Linked DNA regions of Homo sapiens: region 1 is linked to region 2. Evidence: promoter capture Hi-C in human tissues and cell types (Jung and others, 2019). All regions are on one chromosome and are shown on one strand. Each heading gives the region's core, a stretch centred on a gene start or on the middle of the fragment in contact. The rest is flanking DNA. Distances are from core to core; before and after follow the strand shown. Region 1 overlaps DNM2 (dynamin 2). Region 2 holds the start of S1PR5 (sphingosine-1-phosphate receptor 5).

Region 1 (5,663 bases), core at 650-3,149, 290 kb before region 2:
AGGCCCTGGCATAGGATCGGCTCAGCTACAAGAAAGACCCTGGGATTGCCAGAAGAGCCCCGCCAGAGGGCAGTGGCAGGGATGACCAGCGCCTTGGTGGCTGGCAGTGGGAGAATGTCCAGCAAAAGGGAGCCCCTGCTAGGACTGGAGGCCCAGGCTGTGCTGTCCAAGTGTAAGAGCCGGGCTGAGGCCGGCTGCCTAGAGGTGAGCTCCTTGAGCTGGGTTCAGTTCTCAGCTATGAGTAGCAGGCTGCTTCCCGCTGGGCTGGGCTGGACTGGGCCTCACGCCCATCTCACGCCCCACACTGGGCCCCAGCTGAGGGTTCTGCACAAAGGAAGGAGGTGTTACCCACAGCAGGGATGGACAGCAAATATGATTCATCTCGGGAGCCATGTCAATCGACTGGTACAAGATACCTGAAGCACTGTGGTGAGAATTCTGGGCGTGGCAGGAAACGGTGCTAGGATCAATTAGTGTTGCCTGTCACAGGCCAAGGATAGGAGAAAGGGTAAGTGGAACAGAAGAGCCTCATCAATTTATCTGGAGGACAAGAGGCAGCATCTAGGAAAGAGGCTCCTGATTGACTAGTCATGCCTGCCATGCATAGAGAAGAGGGTATCATATAGGGAGAAAAACAATACCTTAATCACTTAGCCACATCTGCTATAGAACAGGAGTGCTGGCAAGCTTATTTGGAAAGAATGCTAGGATTGCTTAGCAATGTCTGCCATGGGCGTGTGCTAGAGGAGCGGCACAAGGCAAAGAGTGCTAGATCAACTAGCCATGTCTGCCATGGGCACAAGAGGGCAAGATTTCTGCCATGTGGAAAAATATGCTCTGATCCATGAGTGACATCTGCATAGGAGATAGAAGGAGGAGGGGCAGTGCCAAGAATGAATTCTGGTCTGGCTTAAGCGAGATCTTCCACAGCCAGGGATGTGAGGGGAGGCAGGGGCGGTGTGTAAGTATTTGCCATCCCTGACCTACAGGAAACCAGGAAAACCTGCCAGGAACTGGCTGCAGAAGTGCGCCTTCAAGGGTGGCGGTCCAGTTAGTGCCTGTGTGAGTCGACTTATACCCAGGGCAACGTGCAGTCCAGCGCCGGCTGCGGCATGGGGTTTCCAGGTTAGCTCGATTTTTAGTATTTTTGTTATTTGGAGGGGATGGGGAACAGGGAATATTAGGGGTGGGCGGGGTCTCCATCACCACTAGATTCTCTAATGTTTGCTACCACACTAAGCATGTACTTACCAGGATCTCCCCCTTTGAATATGCAAAGTTAGGGTTGTGGGTAAATCAGGGAAGAGCAGGCAAAGGAAAAGAGATGGAAGGGACGTGAAGGGGACAAAGAAAAAGCAGGAAAAGCACAAAAACAGGAGAAGAGAAGAGCAGGGGAAAAAACAGCAAAAGAAAAAAAATTACATGCTATTAATCATATTCATGGTGTTAATATTTAATTCATTATTATCTCAAGAAACAAAAAAGCAACAACATATGTATTACCTACGGCAAGCGCAAAAATAAATCATGCAATGGTTACGTTCTTCCTTCCAGTAGGCTCTATGATCGTGCAAGGTACATGGTGGAGTCCCCGCCCCCACCCCTGCCCAATGGGGAGAAGGGAGGGACATAGGCAGAAATTTTGCGAAGATTATGGTTTCCTTTTCTTTCTTTCTTTTTTTTTTTCCTGATATGGAGTCTCGCTCAGCCGCCCAGGCCAGAGTGCAGTGGTGTGATCCTGGCTCACCACAACCACCATCTCCTGGGTTCAAGTGATTCTCCTGTCTCAACCTCCCGAGTAGGTGGAATTATAGGCACCCACCATCATGCCAGGCTAATTTTTTGTATTTTAGTAGAGACGGGGTTTCACCATGTTGGCCAGGCTGTTCTCTAACTCTTGACCTCAGGTGATCCGCCCGCCTCGGCCTCCCAAAGTGCTAGGACTACAGGTGTGAGCCACCGTGCCCGTCCAGGTTTTCTTAAAAATTAATGATAAAGGCTGGCATGATAATCCCAGCACTTTGTCCGGGCGAGGCGGGTGGATCACCTGGGGTCAGGAGTTCGAGACCAGCCTGGCCAACATGGTGAAACCCTGTCTCTACTAAAAATACAGAAATTAGTCAGGGGTGGTGGCAGGCTCCTGTAATCGTCGCTACTCAGAAGGCTGAGGCAGGAGAATCACACGAAGCTAGGAGGCGGAGGTTGTGGTGAGCTGAGACCGCGCCACTGCACTCCAGCCTTGGTGGCAGAGTGAGACTCTGTCTCAAAAAAAAAAAAAAAAAAAAAAAAAAAGGCTGGACGTGATGGCTCACGCTTGTAATTCCAGCACTTTGGGAGGCCGAGGCGGGTGGATCACCAGGTCAGGAGTTTGAGACCAGCCTGGCCAAGATGGTGAAACCCCCTCTCTACTAAAAATACAAAAAAATTAGCTGGGCGTGCTGGCGGGCGCCTGTAATCCCAGCTACTCAGGAGGCTGAGGCAGAGAATTGCTTGAACCCGGGAGGTGGAGGTTGCAGTGAGCTGAAATCGTGCCACTGCACTCCAGCTGGGACACAGAGCAAGGCTCCATCTCAAGAAAAAAATAAAAAAAAATTAGCCTGGTGTTGTGGTGAGCACCTGTAATCCCAGCTACTGAGGAGGCTGAACCAGGAGAATCGCTTGAACCTGGGAGGCAGAGGTTGCAGTGAGCCAAGATTGCGCCACTGCACTGCAGCCCAGGTGACAATGCGAGACTCTGTGTCAAAATAATAATAATAATAATAAGGTACTGAAGGCAGGCATTGATACAGCCGTTCATATTTCACAAGGCCTCTAGCTGGGTTAAGATGTCAAGGTACAACCCTTTGTGGCTCAGGGCTTCTCCAGGTGTGGGGCTTCAACTATCCCAAGCTCCCCTGAGCTGCTAGTGACAATGTAGTTTCCAGCGGCTCTCACCTAGGGGCTCCCAATCCCTGGGGCTGTGTTGGAAAGCTCAAAGAGGTCACAGACCCCCGCTCAAGGGAAAAATTCTTATTTATATCTTTATTATTATTATTTTTGGAGACAGAGTCTGGCCCTGTCACCCACACTGGAGTGCGGTGGCGCAATCTTGGCTCACTGCAACCTCCGCCTCCAAGGTTCAAGCAATCCTCCTGCCTCAGCCTCCTGAGTAGCTGGGATTACAGGCGCGTGCCACCACGCCTGGTTAATTTTTTGTATTTTTAGTAGAGATGGGGTTTTTGCCATGTTAGCCAGGCTGGTCTCAAACTCCTGAGCTCAGGCAATCCGCCCGCCTCAGCCTCCTAACATGCTAGAATTACAGGTGTGAGCTATCGTGCCCAGCCTATTATTAATTTTTAAGATGAGGTCTCATTGTATTGCCCCGGATGGTCATGAACTGCTGGGCTCAAGTGACCCTCCCACCTTGGCCTCCTAAGTAGCTGGGGTGATAGGCATGAGCCCACCACTCCCAGGTAATTTTTAAATATTATTATTTGTAGAGACAGAGTCTTTCTATGTTGCCCAGGCTGGTCTCAAACTCTTAGCCTCAAGTGATCCTCCCACCTCGGCCTCCCAAAATGCTGGGATTACAGGTGTGAGCTACTGTGCCCAGCCAAGAGTCAAGTTCTAACCCTGGCCTTGGATGGCACATAGGGCCTTCTGGGTGGGTAAAATGTGCCCACTAGGCCCTGCCAGAGTGTTGGCTCTCAGGCCATCTCCCAGAATTATCAATTCCTAAGTGGCCTCTAGAGAGAGCAGATGGCCTGGTACTGAGGCTGTGGGGTGGGGCTTTACACAGGCCGAGCTCCATCACGGGGGCTTAGCTGTCACTTAGCGTCCTCCCGCCCCCAGGGTAGAGCGGGAGACTGCAGAGGGGTGTGCTACCTGATTGGGGATGGCTCTCTTCTTGTTCAGCTGCGTGCTCCTCTGCTGGGCACTGAAACCAAAGAACAGACAGGGTTCACGTGGACAAGATGCCGGGGGGGAAGAAGGGGAAGAGGCGAATGTGGCCGTTCTCTCCCTGGGGACCAAGTGAGCAGCCACAGGTAGAGGCAGAGAGAAGCCCCCTGCACACACAGAGCTGCGCAAGGGAAACGGCCTGGGCACACGGAACAAGTAAATGTATCTGGTTCAATTGAGGCTTCTAGGCCCTCATCTCAGCCGACTTACTAAAGCGCAGGTTACTTCCAGATGTCACTAGAATCCCGGAGTTTCTAAGGGGAAGTGTGAGAAGGTGTTGCCTAAGATGAGTGCAGTGGCGCAATCACAGCTCACTGCAGCCTTGACCCTCCCGGGCTCAAGTAGTTCCCCTGCCTCAGTCTCCCGAGTAGCTGGAACCACAGGTGCATACCACCATGCTCAGCTAATTTTTGATTTTTTGTAGAGACGAGGTTTCACTGTGTTGCCCAGGCTGGTCTTAAATTCCTAGACTCAAGGGATCTGCCTGGCTCCACCTCCCAAAGTGCTGGCATTACAGGCATGAGCCACTGCACCTGGCCCTTCTTCCTACTCTTCTCATCATTTGATCCCAACACCAGCCTGTAAGTGGCTCTAACCACAGAGCCATCCAGTCTTAGACATCAGACTGTGGGACAGCTGCTGGTCATGAAATGACACATATCTTGCATGACTCCTGACCCAAATTTAGAGGACATCCAAGGTCGACAGGGTGTGTTTCTATAAGGTTCCTTATTCATCCACAATCCCAGATCTCTTTTCTTCTTTATCCATCCTACTTCCTGGCTAGTTCATGCCGGCATAGACAAATCCCACTATATTTTATATGTGGACACCTACTCCACCACCTTACGGTTCTAATATATTTTCTACTCTGACAATCATATCACCACTTGCAAACAACATATATCTCCTGTTACTTATCCATCATATTTTCTTGTCTTTTCTTATTGCTTTGGCTGAAACTTTCAGAACAATATGGAAAAGCAAGTCAGCTTGGTCACCTTCCTTTGCTGACTACCTCGGGGGTTTTGTTTTAAAGTCCAAGTTGGCTGTAGGATAAGGGAGAAAGTAGGCTTCTGTTTCTAGATCAGGAAAGGCTGGAAAACTAAGAACAAAGGCAGAATTTTATCCAGTGATATTCCCAACATTCAGTAAGTTTATTATAGGGCTTCTTATCTGGGCTATTTATTTACTTATTTATTTTTGAGACAGAGTCTCACTCTGTCACCCAGGCTGGAGAGCCCTGGTGTGATCATGGCTCAGCACAGCCTTGACTTCCTGGGCTCAGGTCATTCTCCCACCTCAGCCTCCTAAGTAGCTGAGATTACGCACCACCACCATGCCCAGTTAATTTTTGTATTTTTTGTAGAGACAGGGTTTCACCATGTTTCCCAGGCTGGTCTCAAACTCCTGGGCTCCAGCAATCGACCCACCTTGGCCTCCTGCAAAGTATTGGGATTACAGGCATGAGCCACTGCGCCAGGCTTGGGCCCTGTTTATAATATACATTTGGAGGGCAATGGGAAGCCCAGAACATTCAAGCACAAGAAGGATTTTCATCAACAGCATCTGAAGGAGGTGGCACTGAGCTGAGCCAACCTCCACAGTGATGGCTGGGTGACAGTGAGGTTCCAGAGGTGCTATTTCCTAAGGGCCTCCTGGCTCCCATCCTTGCCAGGGCTCCCTCAAATAGCAGCCCACAAGGTGGCCCCTCTCCTGGGCCT
Region 2 (5,417 bases), core at 2,777-5,276:
TACAAAAATTATCCGGGTGTGGTGGCGCGTGCCTGTAATCCCAACTACTCAGGAGGCTGAGGCAGGAGAATTGCTTGAACCCAGGAGGTGGAGGTTGCAGTGAGCCCAGATAGTGCCATTGCACTCCAGCCCAGGTGACAGAGTAAGACTCCGTCTCAAAAAAAAAAAAAAAAAAAAAAAGGGCAGGGGGAGTGAGGAGGGTGGGAATGGGAGTGGGTGAAGGGGATCTGAGGGTACCATGGGAGGCAGTTTGCCCTCTCGAAGGTGCAGACCCAGCTCTGCAAGAGCGGGCGCTGGGTGGAGCTGCCTCTGTGGGCGAGGGTGCTGGCAGCAGAACTGGCCCAGCGGGTGTGCTGGCCTAGGCATGCTTCAGGCGGGAGGGCTGCTGCAAGACACAGCAGGAACATAGAGGCCAGGGGTGCCCTGAACCCGGGAAGAGACAGTTTGGCCTGTGGGGTGTGGGAGGAGGTATGGGGTGGGGGCGGGTGGTGGCAATGTCTGGGGCTGATTCCTTATGAGCCCATTGCCCTAATTCTTCTTTGGGGATACAGTGGTGACCAATAATAGCTGCACTGACATTTGTGGAGCTCTCATTGTATACCTTGGCTCTGTTCCAACTGTTCATTTCATCTTCAACAACAGCCTTGGAGTGGGTGCGGTTATCTCAATTTTATTTTTATTTTTTTTTTGAGATGGAGTCTCACTGCATTGCTCAGGCTGGAGTGTAGTGGCGCGATCTTGACTCACTACAACTTCCGCCTGCCAGGTTCAGGTGATTCTCCTGCCTCAGCCTCCGGAGTAGCTGGGACTACAGGTGCGCGCCACCACGCCCGGCTAAGTTTTATATTTTTAGTGGAGATGGGGTTTCACCATGTTGGCCAGTCTGGTCTTGAACTCCTGACTTCAGGTGATCTGCCCACCTCGGCCTCTCAAAGTGCTGGGATTACAGGCATGAGCCACTGCACCTGGCTATTATCTCAATTTTACAGATAAGTCCACTGAGGCTCACAGTGGGTATCACTTGCCTGCCTCAAGACCTTGAGTCCTGTCTCACTCCTGTAATCCCAGCACTTTGGGAGGCTGAGGCAGAAGAATTGCTTGAGTCCAGGAGTTCAAGGCCAGCTTAGGTAACCTGGCGAGACCCTGTCTCTACAAAAAATTTTAAAAAGTAGCCAGGTGCAGTGGCTGGCACCTACGGTCCCAGCTACTCTGGAGGTTGGGCAGAGGATTGCTTGAAGCCTGGAAAGTCGAGGCTGCAGGGAGCTGTGATCACGGCACTGTGCCCCAGCCTGGATGACAGAGTGAGGCGCTGTCTCACAAAAGAAAGAAAAATCAAAAAACTGTGAGCCCTTAACCTTTAGGAATCTGGGCAGAGGGACAGACCTGCCTTCCTGGAGCTGAGGCTCTAGGTCAGAGATACACATTAGGAAAGATGAATAAATAAATGAAATGAACAAGGTGGCCGGGCACGGTGGCTCACGCCTGTAATCCCAGCACTTTGGGAGGGGGAGGCGGGCGATTCATCTGAAGTCAGGAGTTGGAGACCAGCCTGGCCAACATGGTGAAACCCCGCCTCTACTAAAAATACAAAAATTAGCTGGGCGGGGTGGTGCATTCCTGTAATCCCAGCTACTCTGGAGGCTGAGGCAGGAGAATTGCTTGAAGCCAGGAGGCGGAGGTTGCAGAGGCGAAGTTTGCAGTGAGCCCAAATCGCACCACTGCACTCCAGCCTGGGCAATAAAGGGAGATTACAAAAAAAAAAAAAAAGCAAAAGCAAGGTGATTTCAGATAATGCCAACTGCCATTTGAGATGAGGGACAGATCAGGGAAGGTCTCTCTGAGGAGGTGACCAGCTGACCAGCTGGGAAGGGGTGGGGAGAAGGGTGCTCCAGGCCACCTGGCCCCCAAGTTCAAAAGTCTTGAAGTGTGTGTGGAACTCGGAGGAGCCCGGGAGGCAGAAGCAGAGTGGAGCAGAGAGAGGCACAGAAGTAACAGAAAGAGACAAATCAGGACGGCATATGGCCTTGTCCTTGCGGGGTCCTCACTGAGGACTTGATCACTTACTCTGAGAAACACAGGGAGCCACGGGAGGGTTTGGAGCAGAAAAGAAATGTGATCTGAGTTTTAAGAACTGTGGCCAGGAGTGTGGAGTGGCAGCTAGGGATGGGACTCCCAACATCTGTCGAGATCCTGGAGCCTGAGTCCCCAGGGTCCCAATTCGTGGGAAAGAAGTTCAGGGAGGCAGCTGGAGAGGCAGGTTGCTGAGCCCGGGACCCGCAGCCGGAAGAGCCCCATTTTCGAGAGAAGTGAGATTGGCGCCTGGGAGGTGTGAAGCAGCCACCTCCCCACCCTGGGGCGCGGCTTCCCCTTTACAGAAGGAGGTCATTTATTGAGCACCTACTGGGTGCCAGCCACAGCCATGCTGGGAGATCTTCAGGGGTCATCCCAGTGGGCACCATTGGAGTTGGCTTGGTCCACAGGACTGGGGAACCTGGCACTGAAGGGTTAACACCGTCCCACCCTGCGGGTCCCATTGGCTGTGTCTTTGAGCAGAGCAGGCAGGAAAGGTTCTGCCCACCGAGGGAACAGCGGGGGCAGGAGGGCTGGGATCCCCAAGGGGCTACATGGGGGCCTGACCCGGCCTGAGTGCCCCCTGAGTTTCCTCCCACGAGGGTATCCCGGATCCACACTTATTCTCAGCCTCTGGCTCATCTCTCCTGGGGCGCCCTCACCCCACCCGCGGCCAGCAGGGCCTGAAGCATCAGGGGCAAAGGGCACGGTCCTGGAGAAGGTCGCAGCAGCGGGACCCAGCCTCCCTTCCTGAATCTGAGGGTGGAAGAGCTGGGACCGTCTGGAAGTTCCTGGGAAGTCGGGGTGGGGGCGTTTCGGGGCCAGCGGGACTGGTCGTTGGAGGAGCAGTGGCCTGGGAGAGGCGTGGGAGAGCATCACAGACAGCAACAAAGAGACACGCAGAGGCAAAGAGACACGCAGAGACAAAGAGACACGCAGGCGAGAGACTCTGAGATCCTCCTGAGAGAGATACAGAGGAAGTGAGGGAGACACTCATTCATTATCTGGGCATGGTTGCAAGCGACTGGAGTCCCAGCAGCTACGTTCAGCCGGCTGAGATGGGAGGATGGCTTGAGCCGCGGAGGTCGAGACTGCAGTGACTTATGATGTTGCCACTGCACTCCACTCTGGGCCACAGAGCAAGATCTTGTCTCAAAAAAAAAAAAAAAAAAGAAATTCTTACATTGCTGGGGTTTACTGTCTGCTAAGGACACAGCCCAGAAACACCATTAATGAGTAAATCACTTTGTCGTCAGCGATAAGGGTGGGAGAGAATCGGTCGGGGGAACACGGAATCCAGGGGGTGGGACAGGAGAGACCCTCCTTATCTGAGGAGCGGCAAGTTCCCATCACAATCCTGCCCGGGCCCGCCCCACCCCCACTCGCCCTGAGCCGGGGGCGGGAGCGGGAAATTGGGAGGGGCCTGTGCCCGGGAGCAGCGGGAACCTATCTGCTGGTGGGAGAGGACTCAGGCTAAGGTGGCCCCCACTGAAGACTCCTGCTAAGCAACCCACTGAAGACCCCTCCGAATCATCGACGGGGCGTCCTTGGGGTGCAGCCCAGGAAGCTCAGTTCACAGGTGGGTGGGCAATGGGAGGGCGCAGTGCCCGGACACCCAGGACAGAGGAGACCCCTCCGCTGGGGAGAAGAGGCTCAGGCTGCGACCGCCCTGCTGCAGAACCCTCCCTTTCCCGCCTCTCCGAGTCCTCCCACCGCGATGGAGCGTCCCTGGGAGGACAGCCCAGGCCCGGAGGGGGCAGCTGAGGGCTCGCCTGTGCCAGTCGCCGCCGGGGCGCGCTCCGGTGCCGCGGCGAGTGGCACAGGCTGGCAGCCATGGGCTGAGTGCCCGGGACCCAAGGGGAGGGGGCAACTGCTGGCGACCGCCGGCCCTTTGCGTCGCTGGCCCGCCCCCTCGCCTGCCAGCTCCAGCCCCGCCCCCGGAGCGGCGTCCGCTCACTCGGTTCAAGGCAGCGCGACTGCGGGTGGCGCACGACCAGGGCGCAGAGTGAGTGGACTGCACTGGACCTTTGGGGGCGCTGGGCTGGGCCTGACCCGGAGGGGGTCGCCCTGGCGGCCACTTTCCCGGTCTAAAAAGGCGCACCACTCCTTGCAGGGAGTTCTCCGAACTTTTCCTGGAGGCCTCTGGGGAGGGGGAAGCTGGGGGCTCCCCAGCTGGGTGCAGGACCTGGGATACGGGGTGAAGGTGGCTGGAATCCCCTGGCCACCCCCTCCTGGCCGGGCCACTGCAAGTTTCCATACTTCAGTCCTGCTGCCGGGCAAGCTGGGCGGATGGGGTTGGCCTCCCCCTCAGAGCATGTGTAACCCTGTCTCCCTGTATTTGGGCTCCCCACCTCCAGCATGGGTGAGCCAGCGACTTCCTGTCTATGTTTGCCTGCCTTGATTCTCTGTGTGTGACTGAAGCTCTCTGGGATGTCCGCATCCCTGCCTTGTGCAAAAGAGATCCATTCCCCTCCCCAGGCCTTGGCTTTCTCATCTGGACTTGCATGGGGACTATTTGTGCATGGATGTTTGTGTGGGAGCATGGAAACCTTTGCGCCTGCTTCGATACGAAGCATTTCTTTTGAGCTTCAGTTTTCTCATCTGTAAATTAGGACTAAAGGAAGTGGGGATTAATAAGGTCACAGAGGCAGGTGAGGAGTGTTATTACAGTTTAATGACATGTGTGCCCCTCTGTAAGAGTCTGTTTGCCTCTTGTGGATTCTCTCTCCTGTCCTCAGGCTCTGCCTTAGTAAAATGAGTGAATAGGATCAACTTTTTTTTTTTTTTTTTTTTTTGAGACGGAGTTTCTCTCTTGTCACCCAGGCTGGAGAGCAGGGGTGCGATCATGGCTCACTGCAGCCTCGGCCTCCCAGGCTCAAGTGATCCTCCCGCCTCAGTCTCTTGAGTAGCTGGGACTATAGGGGCATAACACCACACCTGGCTAATTTTTAAATTTTTTTGTAGAGATGAAGTCTTAGTATGTTGCCCAAGCTGGTGTCGAACTCCTGGGCTCAAGTGATACTCCCACCTCGGCCTCCCAAAGTGCTGGGATTACAGGCGAAAGCCACTGTGCCTGGCCAAGGAGCAACTTTCTCATGGGGTTTTGGGTGGATGAGGGGGTTTTGGCAGGAAAAAGCTTTGTATGCAGTGAGACAAGAGTGTGGAGTGTGGTGCACTGGGCCCCAGGCTAGTGTGAGTGGAGGTTGTGAAATTGTGGCCTGTGCCACTGGGTGGGAGACCCTGTATTCGTGTGACTGAATTTTGGTCGCTGTGTTTTTCTGCCTGCGTCACTCTGTTCCTGTATGATGTATTTTTTAGTTTCCCTGATAGTGTGTGACTGTGTGTTT

The links. The method cuts DNA at HindIII sites, captures the fragments that hold promoters and counts their contacts. A contact is called where the count stands out against the background at its distance.
Region 1: a fragment that was not itself captured here is called in contact with the fragment with the promoter of S1PR5 in region 2 in 1 of the 25 tissues and cell types used here (thymus).

What each region holds. Positions count from the first base shown.
Region 1 is chr19:10,804,169-10,809,831 of GRCh38, reverse strand. It overlaps DNM2 (dynamin 2), which reads right to left. Exons shown (of 21, transcript NM_001005361.3): 13 at 3,865-3,916; 14 at 1,252-1,263. Among named protein-coding and RNA genes, the nearest start is that of MIR199A1, 10 kb to the left of the region's middle. The HindIII fragment of the contact is 9,704 bases long and covers 1-5,663 here.
Region 2 is chr19:10,516,056-10,521,472 of GRCh38, reverse strand. It overlaps S1PR5 (sphingosine-1-phosphate receptor 5), which reads left to right and starts at 4,026. Exons shown (of 2, transcript NM_030760.5): 1 at 4,026-4,075. RefSeq lists an enhancer at 2,119-2,681. The HindIII fragment of the contact is 14,604 bases long and covers 1-5,417 here.